4 separate regions of the Homo sapiens genome follow, and regions 2, 3 and 4 are each linked to region 1. The links are contacts of gene promoters, found by promoter capture Hi-C in blood cells and fetal thymus (Javierre and others, 2016). All regions are on one chromosome and are shown on one strand. The core of a region is centred on a gene start or on the middle of the fragment in contact, and the rest is flanking DNA. Distances in the headings are between cores, read along the strand shown.

What was found. The method cuts DNA at HindIII sites, captures the fragments that hold promoters and counts their contacts. A CHiCAGO score of 5 or more calls a contact.
Region 2: a fragment that was not itself captured here is called in contact with the fragment with the promoter of RIMOC1 in region 1 in 1 of 17 cell types (erythroblasts); the score reaches 6.2 in erythroblasts.
Region 3: a fragment that was not itself captured here is called in contact with the fragment with the promoter of RIMOC1 in region 1 in 9 of 17 cell types (neutrophils, M2 macrophages, M0 macrophages and 6 more); the score reaches 10.4 in neutrophils.
Region 4: a fragment that was not itself captured here is called in contact with the fragment with the promoter of RIMOC1 in region 1 in 2 of 17 cell types (erythroblasts and neutrophils); the score reaches 6.1 in erythroblasts.

The regions. Positions count from the first base shown.
Region 1 is chr5:41,902,966-41,905,665 of GRCh38, reverse strand. It overlaps RIMOC1 (RAB7A interacting MON1-CCZ1 complex subunit 1), which reads right to left and starts at 1,322. Exons shown (of 6, transcript NM_175921.6): 1 at 1,199-1,322. The coding sequence starts at 1,298. RefSeq lists enhancers at 1,220-1,339, 1,092-1,638, 1,750-1,889. The HindIII fragment of the contact is 10,560 bases long and covers 1-2,700 here.
Region 2 is chr5:40,840,906-40,843,605 of GRCh38, reverse strand. CARD6 (caspase recruitment domain family member 6) reads right to left here and starts at 2,239. Exons shown (of 3, transcript NM_032587.4): 1 at 1,941-2,239; 2 at 1-454. The coding sequence starts at 2,223. The HindIII fragment of the contact is 1,795 bases long and covers 533-2,327 here.
Region 3 is chr5:42,904,788-42,907,487 of GRCh38, reverse strand. No RefSeq gene overlaps it. Among named protein-coding and RNA genes, the nearest start is that of FLJ32255, 87 kb to the left of the region's middle. The HindIII fragment of the contact is 1,015 bases long and covers 855-1,869 here.
Region 4 is chr5:42,955,215-42,957,914 of GRCh38, reverse strand. It overlaps LOC105374745 (a long non-coding RNA gene), which reads right to left. Exons shown (of 3, transcript XR_925964.3): 1 at 1-2,700. Among named protein-coding and RNA genes, the nearest start is that of FLJ32255, 37 kb to the left of the region's middle. The HindIII fragment of the contact is 5,385 bases long and covers 1-2,700 here.

The DNA.
Region 1 (2,700 bases), core at 73-2,572:
TAGCTCCTACTACCCAAGAATTATTCATGTGAATCCACAGACCAAAATATAAGTCGGCTTCAGGGTGGTCTGTAGGTCTTTAAAGAACACACTCCTGGCCTGGCACAGTGGCTCACGCCTGTAATCCCAGCACTTTGGGAAGCCAAAGCGGGTGGAATGCTTGAGCCCAGGAGTTCAGGACCAACCTGGATGACATGGTGAACCCCGTTTCTACAAAATATGCCAAAGTTAGCCGGGCGAGATGGTGTGCGCCTGTTGTCCCACTACTAGAGGGGCTCCAGCCTGAGCAACAGAATGATACTCTGCCTCTAAAAACAAAACAAAACAAAACACTCCTGATAAATGATAATCTGGCAAAAAATATTCACTGAAACTAAGGCATTTCATCATAGACCCTATTTAATAACAAATTCACCAACTATTCAATCGCTTAAGAAAATGTTCCACCACTGTTTTCCTATGAGTCCGATGATATGAGTCAGTCCACAGAATTTTAAAAACTATCTGTAGTAATTGCTCAAACTCAAAAAGGAATAATGTAGAACCTAAAGGCAGCTGAGACGTAATGAAAAGAATTGGACTTAAATTCAGAAGGTTGAGGCAATTCCCTAGCCCAGTTTTTCCTAACAGCTTAGACCTTTCCAAAACAAGTATGCCAATACTTAACAGAGCCCTTGTGAGAACTGGCATGATGTATGGGGCAGAATAGTCTACACACCAATGTAAAGCTCTTCTATAGAATGTTGTTTTGAATCCAAAACGTAAAACGCAAATTACAACGCAGCAATGAAAAAGTGGAACTGTTATACATGTCTTTTTATCTTTACAGGATGCAAACCACCATAACTAATTTGAGTGTTATCATTCATCTTAGCCATTTATTTAAACTTCTGTATTTTATTTAGATTCTGCCCTTCTTCCAATCGCTACCGAGACAGTTTACACCAGCACGGATCTAGACAGATTTTCCATGGGTTCTGAATAATGCGGTTTTCGAAGACAACGCCTTGGCATTGTGAGTTCTGGGAAGTGGGCAATCGATGGCGCAGAGGGGCTCAGAAGCGACAGACCTCGGGTAACCACCTGCGGCCTGGGACCCAAAGGAACACAGGCCTCAGCCTCTAGCCCTCACAGCCATCGAGCGCCAGTACCTTAGCGCCGTCTGCCCCGCCCGCCTCCCTCTCCTCCGCTCCCTCACCATCTTCACCGGCAGCTTCGCTAAGTTGCTGTATGTGGGCCTGAGCCAGATCCCCGAGCTCTTCCACTCGTCTCACCACACTAGAGACTGCGGCCGCCATGGCCACAATCGGCGGGTGCGCCCCGGTCACGTGACCGTGTTGGCCCGCAATCACCTGATCCCCCGGCACGGGCGGGGCCTAGGGCGGACCTCTCCTGGTTGGTGGGAGGAGACATCAGCTCCGGAAGAGGGCTGGCCCAGGCCGGCAAAGGTCTTTCCGGGTCATTTTTCCCTCCTGGACTTCCCTTCCCTCCCATAATCCTGAGCAGCAAGGAGACTAGGGGCGGGTGTGACGTTGAGACACGCCTCTCTCTAGCCCCCTCCTGTAAGCCAATAGGGAGCCAGCCGTGCCCCTCGGCTGACCCAATCGGAAGTCAGCTCTCTCCGCCTGCCTCTTGGAAGACAGCTTGGTGACGTCTGGCTGGCAGGATGCGGATTGTCGTCCGCACTCCCACTTCCCTGTCCGGCGCGGGAAGCACAGTCTGGAGGGCGGACGCGAGGGTCTGGAGAGAGGACTGTCAGTTTTGGCCTTGTAGTAAGGAGGTTGCTAAAATAAAGTGATTATAATCTCCTGGTCCTAAATGGAAACCCGACCGGCCCCCTGTGTAACACATCCAAGTCTCCAAGAGTTTGTTGTACATCTGGATGGGGAGCTCCAAACACTAGTGGAGTTGCCAGTCTACATGGTTGAATATTGCTTTTGTAAATCTGATTTTTAGCAGTCGAATTTATCTCTGACCTCCCTTGGAGTTCACATTTAAAGTACTTTAGACATCTTGCGTCCAGTGGTAGTAAATTCTGCGGCCACAAAACTATTTTCATTTTTCTTTCATCTCAAGACCTTCCCTTAAGGCGCTAATTGTGCATGAGGTTCATCCTCTCAATCGGGAGTTTCAAAGCACTCAGTCAGCAAGTCTAACTTCACTTTGCATTCTGTGAATGCTTTCTTGCCTCTGGTCAAACAAATCGTTAACTCTGTGTATTCATTTCTCAGTTTGACACACTATATCTTGAATAATCTCCATCCTATTGTTTCTCATGGAAGGTAGTTTTTTATATGTAATAGAAAAATACTAAAAATAGAGAAAAAGTGTATTGTGATTTATAAGTGATTGACCACAATGACTCTCTAACTGACCTTTGTAATACCAGTTTCTTCTGACAATTCACCCTAAATATAGAGGACAGGAATCATGTATTTTGTGTCCTTGGTGCCTCATACAGTGCCTGGCACATATGCACTCTTGTCAACAAGCAAGATGGCAAGGGGATATGATGTGGTCTGTGGGAGTAGACAATTATTCAATAGTGTGGGAATTGTAGGTGAGGAAAAAAAGAATCTAAGTATAAACAAGAAGTTGAGAGAAGGCTTTCTCAACAAGGGATGGAGAAGGTGGTAGTTGAAGAGGGGCAAGTGCTGGAAGGTAGGGTGGAGAATGATCGTATCTGTACACAAAGGGGGA
Region 2 (2,700 bases), core at 181-2,680, 1.1 Mb after region 1:
TCCTCTTCACCATCATATCCAACGTGCTCTGGGTCATCATAAACCTCCTCTTCCACAGTGGCTTCTGCATCTTCAGGGGTGTCAACAGATCCTAGATATTCCTCTTTTCCTAAGTATAAAGAATCATCTAGCTCCTCATATCTCTGTCCATCTTTTATATATGTAATAGTTGCTGGAACTTCACATCCAACTTTCTCAACTGAATATGATAATGTGACTTCTGGTGTGTCATATTCCTTCTCATTCTTCCTGGCAGACAAAGCTGTTTCCCTATAACTAGTTTTCTTGTCCCTGAAAAACTCAGAGGTTTCCAAATCCAAGTGTTCCTTCTCACTGAAGAACACTGTGATCTCAGGGGCTTCAGGCTGTTTTATTCCAGGAGAAAAAGCATCTTCTGAATTACTGCTTGCCCCCATAGATTGAGGAGGTACTGTATTCTCATGTTTTAAAACTTCTGCAAAGAAAAGAATTGTTTTTCCCAATTAAGAAAAAGAAGCTGTATAACAGCTAGAGTTCCTGAGGCCTCAAAGCTTCATCCCTCTCCTTTTATTTATTTATTTATTTTTTGAGACAGAGTTTCACTCTTGTTGCCGAGGCTGGAGTGCAATGGCACGATCTGGGCTCACTGCAACCTCAACCTCCCGGGTTCAGGTGATTCCCCTGCCTCAGTCTCCCAAGTAGCTGGGATTACAGGCATGCGCCATGATGCCCAGCTAATTTTTGTATTTTTAGTAGAGACAGTGTTTCACTATGTTGGTCAGGCTGGTCTCAAACTCCTGACCTCAGGTGATCCATCTGCCCCGGCCTCCCAAAGTGCTGGGATTACAGGTGTGAGCCACAGCGCCCAGCCACCTCTTATTTCACTGGAGGACAGGAATACCTAACACCTCCTATATAACTTGCATGTCAACATGTCAACTTTCAGAACTTTCTTTTTTCCACTAAAAAAAAAAATCAGATCACACCACTGTCTTGCTTAAAGTTTGAGTCCTTCCTAGCAACCTTACAGGGTAAGTGAATAAAACGAAAAATTTGAATCATATGAACAGTGTTTACTTGTGGACTTACTGTGACTCACAACAGACTCACGTCTCTTGGGGTCATTGCTAATGAAATCTGATCACAAATAATTTCTAATCAGTAAGCAAATGGCTCTATTTGGAATAGTGTGCTTTAGAAATAATAAAAGAAAAATTTCTAAGCATATAAATCTTGTCCTAAATTAGGTATCACTAACATTCACCTTTTTATCTGAGCCTCTACCTCTCTAACATCCCTTAAAATAATTTTGAATTTTTTTTTAGATTCCTAGAAAAAGAGCTAGACCTAGTCCTAGTAGTAATTTACAGAATTGCTAAATAACTGGAAGAATTGCTTTTTCATGGACTACTAGTTATCTTTGAACCATTTAAGAATTAGCACTGGAATTGCTCCAGAAAACAGCTGCTGCTGGCATTCTTATCACCAAAAAAATGAAACTACTGATTTGCCATCTATGTGTTAAAAATTATTTTCCTTGTATTTTCAAAACGGCTATACTAAGTGAAAGATACAGCTTGTGGTCTTGGCACTGTAAATATCCACGAATTCATCTACTTGAAAAACAAACCCTGGATTGTGTTATTATTAAAGTATTTTCCTTCCAACTGTGAGATTTTAGCATGTTACTGCCAGAATAATGAGCAGTTTGTTAGCACTAAAACAACTTCAAGTTTTGAGTACAGTCTGAAAAACAAATTATCGATTCAGTAGACCAATAAGATGTTAAATTTCAGAAACTTTTTAAATTCCAGTTTTTCCCTATTTCATATTTCAATGAAAATTATCTCCAGAAAAAGACTAACAAAAATAAAAGGCAACAATTTTCTTTCATTTTGTTTTCTTTTTCAGAAAGTCTGCCCCCTTCCTCTCACCCCAAAAAGTATACAAAGTCAACTTACCATGCCTTAAGCCGCAAATGGCAGCTGACTGTGGAAAAGTACTAAATAAACACTTGAGAAAATGCTGACAGGTCGCCTCTCCCTTTTTCTGTACCAAAATTAACAGCTTCCGACTTTTCTTCAGGAGATCTGTAACATTCTCCAGAGTCTCATACTCTTCCTCAGAAATCAGCCTCCGAGAAGTTAACGTGTCTAAGATAGAATCAGGATCATGTTGAAGGATTTCAAGCAACTTTTTTCTTTCTCTTTCTATGATCTCTGAGGGAGTACTCTCGGTAGCCATTGTTCCTGTTTCCTCTAAACCAGGAAATATATTATGAAATCATCCTAATGAATAAGTAAAAGTTAAAAAAAGAATGACAAAGAACAATTCTATTTGGCTAAGCTTTAACATGTCAATGATGCCTAGTGTTGGAGAGTGCAGATACAAGCACAGTGGGGCAACCCAGCTCGGAGCACTCTCTGATCCGGGGTCCTTGTGGATTATTTATCTGCTCTTTTGAAGTCTTGATAAATTCTCACCATGACTCAGACCCAGGGTCACCTCCTCCAAGAAGTCGCTCTTGAACTTCAGGTTGGACTAGGTATTCCCTGCTCAGAGAACTATACTATGATGCCAAGAATGTAAATTATTAATTGATATTTGGTGGGCAATATGGCAATATACAGCAATAAATAAATAAAGTTGAAGACAGACAAAAATAAAACTTCATATCCTTCAACCCAGCAATTCCAGTTCTAGGAAATTATCTTAAGGAAA
Region 3 (2,700 bases), core at 113-2,612, 1.0 Mb before region 1:
ATTCATTACTTGAAAAACAAAAGAGAAAATGAAGAGTGGGGATAGACTAACGGGGACTGAAAGAAGATCCCTAGCCTTGTGCCTTCTGAGTTAACAACCACAGGGTTCCAGAGCATCAACTCCAGATCAGACAATTCCAGGCAGCTACAGATGTCTGCCTTGGTGAGTCTTGCCCAGGATCTGGAAGTCCAAGATGAAAGCGCCAGTGATTCAGCTCCTGGTGAGGGCTGTCTTCCTGTCATGCCAATGGCCATGTTGTAGCTGTGTTCTCACATGGCACAGAAGGAGAGAGAGAAGTGGGTAGAGGGGCAAGAGAAGAAAGGGAGAGAAGGAGAGGGACCTGGTATCTCTTCCTCTTCTCATAAGGGCACTAATCCCATTATGAAACCCCAACCCTCATGACCTCATCTAAACTTAATTGTCTCCCAAAGGCCCCATCTCCAAATACCATCACTTGGAGATTAGTTAATCAAAATTATCATGAATTTTGGGGGAACACAATTCAGTGCAGAACACCAAGTGTATGGGAGGCTCTCATAATCTCTGCCCATCTCAGGTCCTGCAGCAACTAAGACTCATTCCTTCTTGTGGGCATCCCAGGAGAAAGATTTATGTGTCTTCACAACTTTAGTGTAAAGATTTGGTGTAAAGGTTTCCAGCCTTTACACCAAAATCCTTGGGCAGAGATGAAAAACATGCAGTAGAGAATACACTTGGGACTTTTACACTTTTCTGTCCCCTCAAATGTTAGAAATCAAAACCCATAAACTAGATGACAGCATTAATCTAGTCTAGCTGTGATTACATCAATCTTTTCACATAGTGGCAGTTCTAAGTATCAGTATAGAGAAGCTTAGATGTTGCATCTTATTGGAACGTGGAACTAGAGCTGTGTTTGCTTTGCACTCATTATTAGACTAATTACATGTCAATTATCCATGTCATAAAAAATAAGCAGATGGTGAAAGATGAGTTAGAGTGTTTTTGTGGTTTGGATATGGAGGGGGCTTCCCATCTTATCATCCTCATTTTCTGTTCTGAAGTCTCAAAATCTACTTAAAAAAAAATAAAACCACAATCCCAATCCTCTGATAACCCATTATTCCATTAACCAATTAACCGTTAATCCATAAATGGATTAAGACATCAAACGGGCAGAGCCCTCAAGACCCAATCACTGCTTAAAGGCCCTACCTCTCAATATTGCTACATTGGGGATTAAGTTTCAACATGAGTTTCAGAAGGGACAAATATTCAAACCACAACATCCCTGAATGGCAATTAATTGTAAAGAGAAATTAATTGTTATCTTAGATGACATGATCGTGATTTCAATTTGAAACCTTTTGAAGGTCTAGGGGATAAAGGGACTATGAATGCAGCCCTGGCTTTGGCTCCCTCAGGGTGGCCTCTGTGTGCAACACCCAGGTTAGATTATCTGCTAAGATTTCCTCTGGGCTGGCCAATCTGAAAGCAATATGGAATTGTGTAATCCAAGGGCTCCTGAACACAAGGGAAAAGGTGTTTCATCCAGTCTCACAGCAGGAGACATCAGCTTTTGAGTTTTTACACTTTTCTGGCCAAGTGCCTGGTCCTAATCAGATCATAGGAAGCATAGTGGTGATATTAATTCTAGAAGCAAATTGTAACAGAAGATGGAATTACTGGTATTAACATAAAACCCTAACATCTTAGACGAAACTCAATCTGTGATAGGGTGGTTTAAGTGATAAAAAGAAAAGGTACTCCTTAACCTGTGGAGGGAAAGCTCTTTTGAGGAACCCTGGTTAATAGTTTATTATTGCCCCAAACCACATTGCTAGTCCTGGAGCAGAGACTGCAATCTTGTTCTCCAGGCAGAGAAAAGCTTGAGGAGAGGTGTGTCCTCAAAGACAACTTGGGATGTTAGTGAGAAGCAGGGCAGTGGTAGTCACTCAATTCTTTCATTTCCTTCTTGTCTTTTATTTTCTATTTATTTTTATTGTGGTAAAATACATATAACAAAATTTACCATCTACCATGAATTCTGAGTCTATCTAGAAGTAAAGTTCCTTAGCATATTCTTGATTACACAAAGATAGTTTTTATAATTTGGAAATCTTTGAGGTACTTTGGAGAAGAAGAACTAAATAAGGAATGATCTCCATCATAGACTTCTTGCTCCTAGTACTTTGGAGAGGAAGAACTAAACAAGGAATGATCTCCAACATAGAAACTTCTTGCTCCTGTTGCCTCTATCTAGAAGGCAGAGTCCCAAGCAAGTTTACAATAACATCATGAGGGTCCCCACTGGGGTGTGAGGAGCTCCTTCCAGGGCATTGGTTGAAGGCAGTGGTGCTGTTGATGCAAGGATACCCCCAGAATTGGCATTCAGCCAGGGAAGCCAAGTGGATACTTTGCTTGTACCAGAAAGAATTCAAGAGCAAGCCAAAAGAGTAATGTGAAAGCAAGTGTATTAAGGAAACAAAAAGAAGGCTACCCCCGTAGTCAGGGTAGCACCAAGGGACAGGGCAGCTAGCTGGCTATTTTATGGCTATTTCTTGATTATATGCTAAATGAGGGGTCGACTATTTCTTTAGTTATCTGGGAAAGAGGCAGGAGCTTGTGGACCGGGGGTTTATCTACCTTACAGAAGATACAGAGTAACTCTTGGGGATTGCCATGGCACTTATAAACAGTCATTGCTCTGGTGGTAGTCTT
Region 4 (2,700 bases), core at 54-2,553, 1.1 Mb before region 1:
TACCAGTCAGATTCCAGGCCCCTCTCTGTGGAATTTGGTCAAGTAGACAGTAAATATCACTCTGTTCATTTTTCCTGTCCAAAATTTTGACTGATGGGAGAAAAGGATTTGTGTGACCAGTGCTGGTGTATTGACTATGGTGTACTTTCTGGTACTTTGTGGTAAGAATCATATTGTTTCATCCATTTCCTCCTAGAGTAGTCTTTTCTTTGTCTTTCTCTTTCTGTGTTGTTCTGTCATAAAGAGGTGTACAGGTTGAGGTTTTTCTCTCATCTCGTTTTGTTTTGTTTGAGATGGAGTCTTGCTCTGTTGCCCAGCCTGGAGTGGTTTGGTGCGATCTTGGCTCACTGCAACCTCTGCCTCCTGGGTTTAAACAATTCTCCCACCTCAGCCTCTCAAGTAGCTGAGATTACAGCTGCGTGCCACCACGCCTGGCTCATTTTGGTATTTTTAGTAGAAACGGGGTTTCACCATGTTGGCCAGGCTGGTCTCAAACTCCTGACCTCAAGTGATCTGCCCACCTTGGCCTCTCAATGTGCTGGGATTACAGGCGTGAGTGTTTTGTTTTGTTTTTTAAGAGATAGCGTCTTACTCTGTCACCCAGGCTAGAATGCAGTGGTGCAATCAGAGTTCACTGCAACTTCAAACTCCTGGGCTCAAGCCATCCTCCTGCCTTAGCCTCCCCAGCAGCTAAGACTACAGGCACATGCCACCATGCCCAGCTAATCTTTTAAAAATATTTTTATAGAGATGGGTCTCCCTACATGCCCAGGCTGCTCATGAACTCCTGGCCTCTCAAAGCACTAGGATTACAGGTGTGAGCCACCATGCCTGGCCTGAAATAATCAATACGCCAGAGGTATATTGATATATTGGCATACTGGGGTGGTGTATTCTGGTGTCTTACAGTCGCATTTTGAGGGAGTGTGTCCAGAATAATCAACTCAGAATTTAGGTTGCTATCTTGAACTGGAGTGTTAGGGAGAAGGGACACAGTAAAATCACACGTACCCCTATGTTAGAAGATGGGCCTTAAATTTACACTAAAAGTTGATTTAACACTGAATGGTAAAATTACATTTATCTATTCAGCCACAGGCAGAGCTGTACAAACTCATACTTCCCTAAGTGAGGGTGTGTATCTACAAAATGGAAATGAGAAGCAAGCCCAGTACAAAGCATGTGCTTGCCGCAGTTTTCAGTTGAGAATGAAATCAGATAAAGCACAAAATACAGTTGGCACAGTGTCTGTCACAAATAATGATTTTTGTGCCATGAACCACTCAATATGTGAGGAGAAGTAAAAGATGAGGCAAGAAGTGGAAAGTATTTATGATAAATTGAACCTTATAAAAAACCAGAGGAGTGAGGAATATGATTTTGCCACTTGCCCAACCATTTCAATGTATTGAACTACATTGTGAAAAAACAAATACAATCATATAGAAGTCAGGAGTTCAAGACCAGACTGGACAAAATGGCGAGACCCCCTCTCTACTAAAAATACAAAAAAATTGCTGAGCATTGTGGCTGGTGCCTGTAATCCCCGCTACTTGGGAGGCTGAGGCTGTAGCGGGAAGTCAGGGACCCCAAAAGGAGGGACCGGCCGAAGCCATGGCAGAAGAACGTGGATTGTGAAGATTTCATGGACGTTTATTAGTTCCCCAAATTAATACTTTTATAATTTCTTATGCCTATCTTTACTGCAATCTCTAAACATAAATTGTGAAGATTTCAAGGACACTTATCTCTTCTCCAATCAATGCCCTTGTGATTTCCTATGCCTGTCTTTACTTTAATCTCTTAATCCTGTCATCTCGTAAGCCGAGGAGAATGTATGTCGCCTCAGGACCCTGTGATAATTGCATTAACTCCACAAATTGTAGAGCATGTGTGTTTAAACAGTATGAAATCTGGGCACCTTGAAAAAAGAACAGTATAACAGCAATGTTTAGGAAACAAGAGAGATAACCTTAAACTCTGACCGCTGGGAAAAAGCCAGGCGGAACAGAGCCATATTTCTCTTCTTTCAAAAGCAAATGGAAGAAATATTGCTGAATTCTTTTTCTCAGCAAGGAACATCCCTGGGAAAGAGAATACGCACCTGAGGGTGGGTCTATAGATGCCCCCCTTGGGTGTGGCCGTCTTCTATGGTCGAGACTGTAGGGATGAAATAAACCCCAGTCTCCCATAGTGCTCCCAGGCTTATCAGGAAGGGGAAATTCCCGCCTAATAAATTTTGGTCAGACCAGTTGCTCTCAAAACCCTGTCTCCTGATAAGATGTTATCAATGACAATGGTGCCCAAAACTTCATTAGCAATTTGAATTTCACCCCGGTCCTGTGGTCCTGTGATCTCGCCCTGCCTCCATTTGCCTTGTGATATTCTATTACCTTGTGAAGTATGTGATCTTTGTGACCCACACCCTATTCGTACACTCCCTCCCCTTTCGAAAGTCCCTAATAAAAACTTGCTGGTTTTACAGCTTGTGGGGCATCACAGAACCTACTGACATGTGAGGTCTCCCCTAGACACCCAGCTTTAGAATTTCTCTCTTTTGTACTCTGTCCCTTTATTTCTCAAACCGGCCGATGCTTAGGGAAAATAGAAAAGAACCTATGTGACTATTGGGGCAGGTTCCCAGATATGAGGCCTCAGAATAGCTTGAACCCGGGAGGCAGAGGCTGCAGTGAGCTGAGA